2 separate regions of the Homo sapiens genome follow, and region 2 is linked to region 1. Evidence: promoter capture Hi-C in human tissues and cell types (Jung and others, 2019). All regions are on one chromosome and are shown on one strand. The core of a region is centred on a gene start or on the middle of the fragment in contact, and the rest is flanking DNA. Distances in the headings are between cores, read along the strand shown. Region 1 holds the start of PTAR1 (protein prenyltransferase alpha subunit repeat containing 1). Region 2 overlaps MAMDC2 (MAM domain containing 2).

Evidence for each region. The method cuts DNA at HindIII sites, captures the fragments that hold promoters and counts their contacts. A contact is called where the count stands out against the background at its distance.
Region 2: a fragment that was not itself captured here is called in contact with the fragment with the promoter of PTAR1 in region 1 in 1 of the 25 tissues and cell types used here (IMR-90 fibroblasts).

What each region holds. Positions count from the first base shown.
Region 1 is chr9:69,756,980-69,762,015 of GRCh38, reverse strand. PTAR1 (protein prenyltransferase alpha subunit repeat containing 1) reads left to right here and starts at 2,005. Exons shown (of 8, transcript NM_001099666.2): 1 at 2,005-2,163. The coding sequence starts at 2,078. It overlaps LOC105376076 (a long non-coding RNA gene), which reads right to left and starts at 1,921. Exons shown (of 4, transcript XR_929910.3): 1 at 1,543-1,921. RefSeq lists enhancers at 128-983, 2,458-2,507 and a silencer at 1,848-2,317. The HindIII fragment of the contact is 12,775 bases long and covers 1-5,036 here.
Region 2 is chr9:70,104,494-70,109,529 of GRCh38, reverse strand. It overlaps MAMDC2 (MAM domain containing 2), which reads right to left. Exons shown (of 14, transcript NM_153267.5): 3 at 1,048-1,319. Among named protein-coding and RNA genes, the nearest start is that of MAMDC2, 63 kb to the right of the region's middle. The HindIII fragment of the contact is 5,648 bases long and covers 1-5,036 here.

The DNA.
Region 1 (5,036 bases), core at 756-3,255:
ACCTTGCTGGCTACAATTTTGTGAAACTTCTATCTCACTTCTTTTTTTTTTTTTTTAGATGGAGTCTTGCTCTGTCGCCAGGCTGGAGGGCAGTGGCGCGATCTCCACTCACTGCAACCTCCTACTTCCGCGTTCAAGCGCTTCTCCTGCCTCAGCCTCCCAAGTAGCTGGGATTACAAGCACGTGCCACCACGCCCAGCTAATTTTATATTTTTAGTAGAGACGGCGTTTCACTGTCTTGGCCACGATGGTCTCGAACTCCTGACCTCGTGATCCTTCCGCCTCTGCCTCCCAAAGTGCTGGGATTACAGGTGTAAGCCACCGTGCCCGGTCCTATCTCACTTCTTTTACAACCAGAAGGCTAACTCCAGCCTTTATAAACATACCCACAGGAAATACTGGCCACTGAGTATAGTAAATTTATATTTTTCGTTTATATTTCTCATTCACTTTACATGCAATAGATAGCTTTTACTTTTACAATCATAAAAACTACTTCAAACGCTCCGCATATGTTCACATTAAACACACCATGAGTTTATTTTTTTAATAGCTTTTTAAAGATACAGATTTCTTTTTTTTTTTTTTTGAGACAGAGTCTCGCTCTGTCGCCCAGGCCGGACTGCGGACTGCAGTGGCGCAATCTCGGCTCACTGCAAGCTCCGCTTCCCGGGTTCACGCCATTCTCCTGCCTCAGCCTCCCGAGTAGCTGGGACTACAGGCGCCCGCCACCGCGCCCAGCTAATTTTTTGTATTTTTAGTAGAGACGGGGTTTCACCTTGTTAGCCAGGATGGTCTCGATCTCCTGACCTCATGATCCACCCGCCTCGGCCTCCCAAGGTGCTGGGATTACAGGCGTGAGCCACCGCGCCCGGCCTTTTTTTAAAGACGGAGTCTCGCTCTGTCGCCCAGGCTGGAGTGCAGTGGGGAGTAGCTGGGATTACAGGCGCCCGCCACCACGCCCGGCTTTTTTTTTTTTTTTTTTTTTTTTGTATTTTTAGTAGAGACGGGGTTTCACCGTGTTAGCCAGGATGGTCTCGATCTCCTGACCTTGTGATCCGCCCGCCTTGGCCCCCCAAAGTGCTGGGATTACAGGCGTGAGCCACCGCACCTGGCCAGATTTCAAGGGTGGAAGAATAAAACTGAACCAAGGGCAGCCAGATTTTTCTACCAGAGGTGCAAAAGAAAACCTGATACACAAAAATTTTAGTTATGGCATTTCAAAATCCTAAATAAACTAGAAAGCTCGTTTTTCCTACAAAAATTTATTTTTGCTATTATGAACAAACCCTGTCAGAGCCTTGATCCTTTTTTTTAAATTCCAAAATTGACGCAAAGGCTACCAAATGCAGTACAAAATGAAGTCGAAAAATCTAAAAACGATTTCACTTCTACTTCCTACATACAGATGGCAAATAACTTTTCCTTCACTTTCCTTTCTCTTCCTTTAATAAATTTAAGAATTTTAATTAATGTTTTTTAAAAAGGCTGCTTTCAAGTTCAGAGACAAAAATTGGCACAGTTAGAAAGGAGGTCACCAACACGGTCAAATAGGGACTCGCTCCGCCGCAATGCCTCTGGACCTCTTCATCTCTCAGGCTGGGAAAATAAAGCAGACAAGCTCTGAAAAACGCCCGGGACTAACTGTTAAGAGGCCCTGCATCCTCAGTTGAACATTCCTTCAGGAATGCCCGGGGACCTTGCTGGGGGGGTTCAGGAAGGTGTCTGACTCTCTGGGAGTGTGTCTTGAGGTTTCGCCTAAAACTTAAAATAAGAAAATCGGAGGCCTGAGAGAACTTTGCAAACAAATGTCCAGCATCTTCTCTGACGCTTAGAAAGTCCGTTACCCGCGCGGAGGCGAACTTCTCCACTCACTGGAAGGCCACCAACCCTAGCTAACGCCACGCCCAGGCCGCCAACTGGCTGACCCGGAAGTGCTCGGCGGCGGCCGCGGCGGCGGGGACGCGGCCTAGCCGAAGCACCCGCGCGCGCGCGCGCGCGCTCGTTCTCCGCGGAACTCCCGCCGGCGGCCCGGCTCACGCGGAGGCGCGCCCGAACTGTCGCGGCCGCCGCCAACATGGCCGAGACCAGCGAGGAGGTGGCGGTGCTGGTGCAGCGGGTTGTGAAGGACATCACTAACGCCTTCAGGAGGAACCCACACATGTGAGTCGCGCGCCTCCGCCGCCTCCGAGGGTCGTCGGGAGCGGGCGGGGGCGGGGCCAAGCGTCCACCCGACCTCGGGCGGCGGGCGGACAGCGGGTCCTGGCCCACGAGCCCTTCTAGGGAGGAGGCAGAGCCGTGTCGGGCGGGACCGTTGTCGGCCGCCGCTGGCCCGGCTTTCCGCTACCGGGACGCGCTCGCGGTCGAGTCCCTAGAAGTGACCTCAAAAAATCAAAACGGAACTACTTTCTCTGTCCCTCCCCACCTTTTCATAGGAGTTCACGAAACTCCAGAGACGTCCCCCGTAGGTCGACATCCTTCCTGTGTTTAAGGTACTCGGGCGCACACAACGATGTGGGTCCGTGTATGCCTTGTAAACACAACTCTTGAGATTCATCCCGGACGTTGGCAAGAGGGGGTAACCGATCCTCTTACTTTTAATGAGCCTCAAACCCCTCAGTTTACTAACTAAAGGTGGTTTGAGGCTGCTTTTGACTTTAGCCTTACTTGCCACAAAATTGTAAAGTGACTCCGATAATACATTGTGTTTTGAAAGGTGAACAGAACATTCTCAAGAGAAGCTTCTGTGGGCGCAGTGTGGAGTCTGGGATAAAGCAAATGAAACCTTGATACTTTTTAGCATAAGCGGATTCATAGTTACAAGGAGCATGTTAACTCATTTTTATCCCAACACTGCTGCCCTCTTTAACGGGACACTGCAGAACTGACATATGTATCTCTTCCATTTTACTTGAAGTACTGTGGGAAGATACCGCAAGAGTCTACTTTTTGTAACACTTTGCTTTTATGTAACAAGTGAAAAGAAAGCTATTGAGAGAGAGAGAGAGATCTACATTATACAAAGGTGTAGGGAAGAAGCAACAATGTACCTCCTTTCCCATACCTCTTCCTCCTCAAAGAAAAGAAACATGGCATCCAGTTCTGCATTACTTTCATTTTAGCTAGTTGTTTTTGGAGTTTATTTTTTTTTTTTTTAGTTTATTATTTTTTATTATTATTTAATTTATTTTTATTTTATTCTTTAGACTGGAGCTCATGATTTTTTTTTTTAAGTATTCTAACCGGTTCAGCTTTTCTGCCTAAAAAAGTTGCCAAACGTGTATCTTACCAAAGTGTTCTTTTCCTCCAAGGTGATGATTGTAAAACAGTTAAGAAGCCGTTGGATGTTTTGCTCCCTTGTGGCACACAATTGGAGACGTGCAACTGTGCCACATTAAAAACAAAACACTGCTGGCCTCAAAACACACCTGCCACCTCTGACAGCATCCACTTCCCTCCCCCTTATGACTGCTGCCTTTTTCAAAATGAGAGTGTTTGGAATGATTTCCTGGCAGTATCCATAGTGGTTGCTGAGCCTTCTAAAGAATGCTTTGATGCCTTGCTGTATATCAGTCTTTCGATTTCTTTTTGAGAATGGGAGCCTTAGTGCAAGTAAGAGACGACCTCAAAAAAAAAAAAAGTTGGACAAATGAAGAGTGTATTTTCTCATCACTGGTATTTTTCTAGAAGAAATTACAGCAGAGATTAGAAATCTAATACAAAATGTCGTAATCATCTTATGTTCTCTTCTTTGAGGTAGACTAAAAGAGCATCATTATATTTGAAGAAACCAAGATTGAATGTTCATTGGCTTGGCAGTTTTTAACACAGTGCAGTTTGGAACATGTCCCAGTTCTTGTGGATCACATTTATGGAAACTCTTAAAGGACTTTAATGCCCCTCCCTAATCCTTTTTCTACTGTAAAACCTCATTAATATATCCTCAATGTATAATTTATTAGTAATAAGGATTTGGGTCATTCGAGATTTAAAACTTTGAGATAAGTTGGATATTCGGAATAATGTAATGATTTGTAATATAGGTCTTAAACATTTAAATAGCTTAACTCATTGTTTAAGACTAGTCATCAGCTATATTTGAATACATATTCCCCACAGTAAAACTATTTTCAATAATATTACTATGCATCTTTGTAAGTGCCTTATAATTTGGGCTTTTAAAAATTGCCTGCGCTTTCTTCCCTTAATTTAGCCCATTTACTCCCAAAATAAAGAGGCTGTGTTTCTTTTTTTTTTTTTAAGGCATTGTTTATCTGTAACGTTTGTATCTAACTTTACTGTATCTAATTACACTTTCAGTATTATACAAAAATTTTTTTGTTTTTCTTGTCCAAACTTAAGATCGGTTGTAATTTTATTGGCCAACATCTACTTCATTAAATACATTGACTTTGTTTATGTAGAAATATTTAGCCAGAAGGAGTTGAGGATGCAGTGGTGAGATGTGGATTTTGTTACTGTATGATGTGAATAGGTACCTTCTCTCAGCCTCAGTTTCCTCTTGATCTTGTGAGGCTGATGAAAACAGGAAAATCACCTCACACAGTGGTACTTAGTTGCCACTCAATAAATATTAGACCTTCCCTGAATCTCTGTGTTCCTCACCAAAAATATATTGGACAAATGATTGGTGAATATGAAGCACTTTATAAACCTGGATAATACTATATAAATGCTGTTTGTATGGTTGAGTATTAGATAATCATATTGGATTCTCTAAAACTGAAAACTTGACCTAGGGATAGTCTTTAACTTAGTGTATGGACCCTGTGCTAATGTAGAAGACAACAGTTTATAATGTAAACAGTCACGTTAAAATTAATCTTATCCAGCAAGTTATTGTTTTTTCTATTAAATATTGAACTCACTGTTTATGAAGTGTTGTGGGTACCATCTTTACTGTGTGAAATAGAAGTTTAAAATACAGTTCTTGAACCCAAGGCACTAACAGAAATTTCTGTAATGGTGGAAATTTTCTGTGTCTGTGCTGTTCCATATGGTAGCCACTAGCCATA
Region 2 (5,036 bases), core at 1,291-3,790, 350 kb before region 1:
TGTGCATGCGCATGTGCACATAAACTCATACATCAAAACTTCAAGGTAAATAAGGCATCTGATAGAAGCTCAGAGTCAGCTGTCTTTTCTTCTCTTGCTATCCCAACCACCACCACCTTCAGTGCTTGTGGTAGCACTTGTGGTCCTGTTTCTGAAAGTAATCACTTTTTCTCCTGTGGTTTTAGCCCTATATTCTGCAACTATGCTGGCAGATTTAGGAGGTGATAACTGCTGGGAAGAAGTTGTTAAAGAGAGAACTCAGAGCCCCCATGCTCCATCCTCAACCACTGGCTGACAGGGAAGGACTCCAAGCAGACAGTGGGTATTGGAGAGTAAAGCATTTCAAGCCTTTCAAAGAAGTGGGATGGGATAGGAAATTGAAAGACGGATTAGGAATGGGGAATATTTTCATGATGGCTCCATTGTGTCCCCGATGAAATATTTTCAATAAACATCACACTTCATGGCCAGGTGTGTCTGGATCCCATCCTCCTTCCTTATCCAGTCCACACCCAGCTTCACCTTACATTCGCTACCTTCCTTTTCCAGGACTCCCAAAGGAACAACTTCCCTCTTTGAAAAGGAAATGGAACATGTCCTTTAAGTATCTTTTCTCTTTTAAAGTATTTTCACTTTCCTTTTATTATAATCTTTTGTTCAAAATTTGTAGCAAAGAAATGATTAAGAAGATAAACAAACACATAGCACACACAATTTAGAAGGATGAAATAAAATTATAGAAATGAGAATACTCCCTAAAGCCATAGAAAATCTATTTTCATTGAAGAGGTTGATTTAAGCCCCATTTAGATTTTTACAGAAGGCTCATTTAAATAGATGGGAAAGAAATCTGGGAAGAAGCTCTTTTAAGGAATAAACAAAATGTTAATTTCCATTGCTAATATTCTTCTATGGTATGTATCTTATGAAACATCACGTCATAATCCAGGAGATAACTAACCTCCATGTCAGAAGTTTTCATAAGATTTTAGAATAGTATAAAGCAAAGATAATAGGCCTTATATCTTTCTCCTAAACTCCACCTACCTTGAATTTCTTGGAACTGTTTTGCAAATCCAAGCTGGCTATGAGCCAGCTGTCTGAAGGTTCCTTAGCTGACCAAAGCAAGCGATCAAAGCTTTCATCTTCAAATCTCATGTAGAGGTTCAGCTGGCTGGGATCTGACAGAGACTCCGAAGATGTGGTTATCTGGTAGACCAAACGGAGGCAGCTCCATTCCTCAGCCTGTAAGTCAGGACTTAGCAGCACAGCTTTCTCCCCCTGCTTGCCAAAGGAGGTATCCACATAAATGTAATGGCCTGGAAAGAGAAAGGAACATAGGAAAAGGATCAATTTTTGTTTGCAACCTGGAAAAATACGTAACTGCAGTTAAGTAAATCTCTGGGCAGATAAACCTGCAGATATATTTTGTCAACCCACTGAAAGTTGCCTGAACACTGGATCACTGGCCTCTTTTGAAAAAATTACAAAGCACTGAGACCATGTTACCAGATGATGACAACAGGCTGGAGCTGAGTGGTGCTGCCTCTTCAGAGGGTGGCATGTGGTCTCCACTTTGCCATAATTGCCATCAGTCCCTCTTCACTCCTCACACTGAGTGTCTCTGCTTTTTATTCTTTTACACCAGGCCCATTTAGCACATTGCATTCATCTCCCTGGTCCCCATAGGCATATGTTTCTGCAGGCTGAGGGACATCAGAATCAGAAGAGCGGCATGACTGAAGTCAGAATAACTGGGTGGACTCAACCTTCTCCTTACATAGCTCTCCCCATTACCTAATGTTTCAATCTGCATTTAACTTGCATCATTATGTAGACTGAATTGATTTGGTTACCTAAGCCTGGATCTTGGGACCTAGGCAGAAAAAGTACATTGTAAGCTATTTTTTATTAAATTAGGAATAAGACTTCCTTCCCTTGACTCTTCCATGACCAAATTTCATAGTTCTGAGAAATAAATGAGGAAACACTTGCAAAACATGTAGCACAGGGCTGGGAAAGCACTGGACACTCTGGGACTAGCAATTGTCCTTCCTTCTCCTCTATCCTCACTTCTCCTTTCGGATTCCCTGTTTCCTCCTTTCTCCTTTTCCTCCTCTCTTCTGTCTTCTTATTCCCCTTTCCCCGTCCTTCTCCTCCTCCTTTCCTTTTCCTCTGTTCATTCTCCTTCCCTTCTCCCTCTACCCTCCTAATATCGACAAGTGCTTTCTGCTGGCTGTACAAGATATGAAAAGCATTTCTATAAAAGTTGGTGGGGCATTGAAGCCAAGAACCTTAACTCGAGCCTTCCAAACCCACCTCTGGCCATCTGGTTTCCTATGTCAATGATCCAATTGCCTGTGGGTCTTTGGGGACCTCCTGGGCCTTTCTGGCCTGCAGATTCTCATGCTTTCTCGGAGGGCCCCACATTCATGGCTGTCATTTAACCTGCTGTCTTTCGTCCTGTGGCTTCCACCACCCTGTGTCTGCACTTCGGTCTCCCTAACCCTAAACTCTTACGAGAAAGGATCTGAAAAGCCTCTTTGTTTTGCTTGATGTTCTTCAGCCTGTCCTCCCACGCTTGTTGTCTCAAATGCCCATCCCAGCCTGGATCCTTATATCCGTGGCGAGTACCGACAGGCTAACTGGAGCTCAGATGACGGCCATCCTCACATGAGGGACACAGTTAGGGCATTGTCTTCAGGGATCCTTTCTTGCCGACTGAAGGATTTCAAGATCAAGATCTAACTCTTCCTGGCAATCTTCTTAACATAGCAACCGCCCACTGGGTGCAGATAGCAATTGCTTCTAGATGCCAACCCAGGCACCCTTGTGGAGAAATCTGGCCCTTGCAGCAATTGCTGACACCATCATACCTCCCACGTACAGGCGACACTCACTGCAACTCAGGCCCAAGTGCTGTTCTAAGTGCTTCACGTGCATTTCCAAGGTGAAGGCCTTGTTGGGTTTGACTATTCTAAGCTGGGGCTCTTGAGGCCAACCCTTTTTGGATAAAAAGTGCTGCTTCTTGTGGCATGAGGAATGTATTAGCACCATCCTCTTTCCCCACTCTTTGCTACTGCCCCAAAAGAAGGGACTTCAAGCAGGCTGGATTGGGGGAGATCACGTGAGTACCTCAAACCTTTTCCGAAGAAGTAGAGAGTTGGACATGGAGTATAAAAGAGGAAAGAAACAAATAAAGACCTTGCTATGTCCTATCAACATTCATATCAAATACCAACTTTGCTGCCATGGGAGGCTCAATTTTCCCTGGGTACTTCCCCAGCCTCCCCTTTTCTCTCCCTCCCCTTTTCCTTTCCCCACTCCAGAAAGGGACAACTCAAAGCAATGCTCTTAAAGTTGAGCCCAGAGTCACCTGGATATCTTGTTCAAATACACATCCCCAGGCCCACCCCTTGAGTTTCCAATCCAGTAGAGCTGGGGTGATGCTGCATTTCTAACAGATTGCATTTCTTGGATGTTCCAGGTGATACTGTTGCTACTGGTCTTTGAGAACTGCTGACTTACAATGTATGGACAGGTAAATAGGGTTCATTCTCCAGCCACCTCTCATCTACCAAAGAAAGTGCAGGCTCCTGTAGCATGTAAAGGAGGTAGGCAACGGTTCTGCTGGAAGGTACAACTCGAATTTAAGTGAATGTGTGTTAAAGCAGGTGCACAGAGTCCATCTGCTGGTGATTATCTTGGCTTTTCAGTGAGTGCCATAAAAAAATTCTCTTGACATTCTCTCTCACCTGATCAGATTTTACTATAAGCTTATGCTAATGTTCTCTTGTCAAGAACCTTTGAGAGCACACACTATATAAAATGTACTATTTAAAATACCTAGATTTTATTCTGTGTGATGAAAGTCGGTGCTATTCATTGAGTGATTTTGACATCTTAGCCATAAATGTGGGTTATTTTAAAATATTGGAATTTTGCATTTAAATTAAAGATCTCATATTTGTTTTTAGGTCACGCCATGTGAACGTGCCTCTTAGCAGCATTACAGTCCATGCAAAGATGTATCTACCCAGCTGATTGGATGCAATCCACTCAGCAGAATGATGCATTTTCCTAGACCTAATCATTAGCCCAAGCACCGCCCACCTCCACTATCACTGCCAACTTCAAGACTAATTTTCTAAATTAATCACTACGTTTTCCAGGCCTGCTCTGGATACAGCCTTAGAATCCTTCTAAACATAGTGCTGCATGTAACCACTACCAATCAATCTGAGTTGGCACTTGAGTTGAAACTACTTGTTATCTCTGCTTGTGGCTTCAGTGTAGGGGTATATTTTGTGGTCACGTTATAGCTAAATTGAACTAGAAGGAACACGGTATATTTTGAAGAAGTTTTAGAAAATATAGGATGAGGAAGATATTAATGTCAAGGATGTTGCCTTTCCCTGCCTTGTCACTAAGAAAATTGCTATTCTAGAATAAATCTGTGAGTTCTTTTTACTTAAAAAGAATCATTTTACCACCGAGTGAATTAACGAAGTTTTCTTTGGGTGTAAAAAAATGTTTTATTTATTCCATCTTAATCAAATTGATATTTGGAAGTTAACTTTAGACATAATTCGCATTCCATAGAATTCACCCTTTTAATACAATTCAGAGGTTTTTAGCATGTTCATAAATTTGTGCACCATCACCACTATCTAATTCCAGAACATTTTCACCATAACCCCAAAAGGAAACCCTGTATCCATTAGCAGTCATCCCTCATTCTCCCCACCCCTAGCATCTGGAAACTACAAATCTACTTTCTGTCTGCCTGAACTTGCCTATTCTGGAAACTTTATATAAATAGAATTATATAATATGTGTCCCTTTGTGACTAGCTTCTTTCACCTGGCATATTTTCAAGGTTCATCCATGTTGTAGCATATATTAGAATTTCATTCTTTTTGGGGGCTAATATTCTATTTTATGGATTACCACATTTTATTTATTCATTCATTAGTTGATGGACATTTGGATTGCCTCTCCTTTTTGACTATTATGAATAATCCTGCCATTAACAT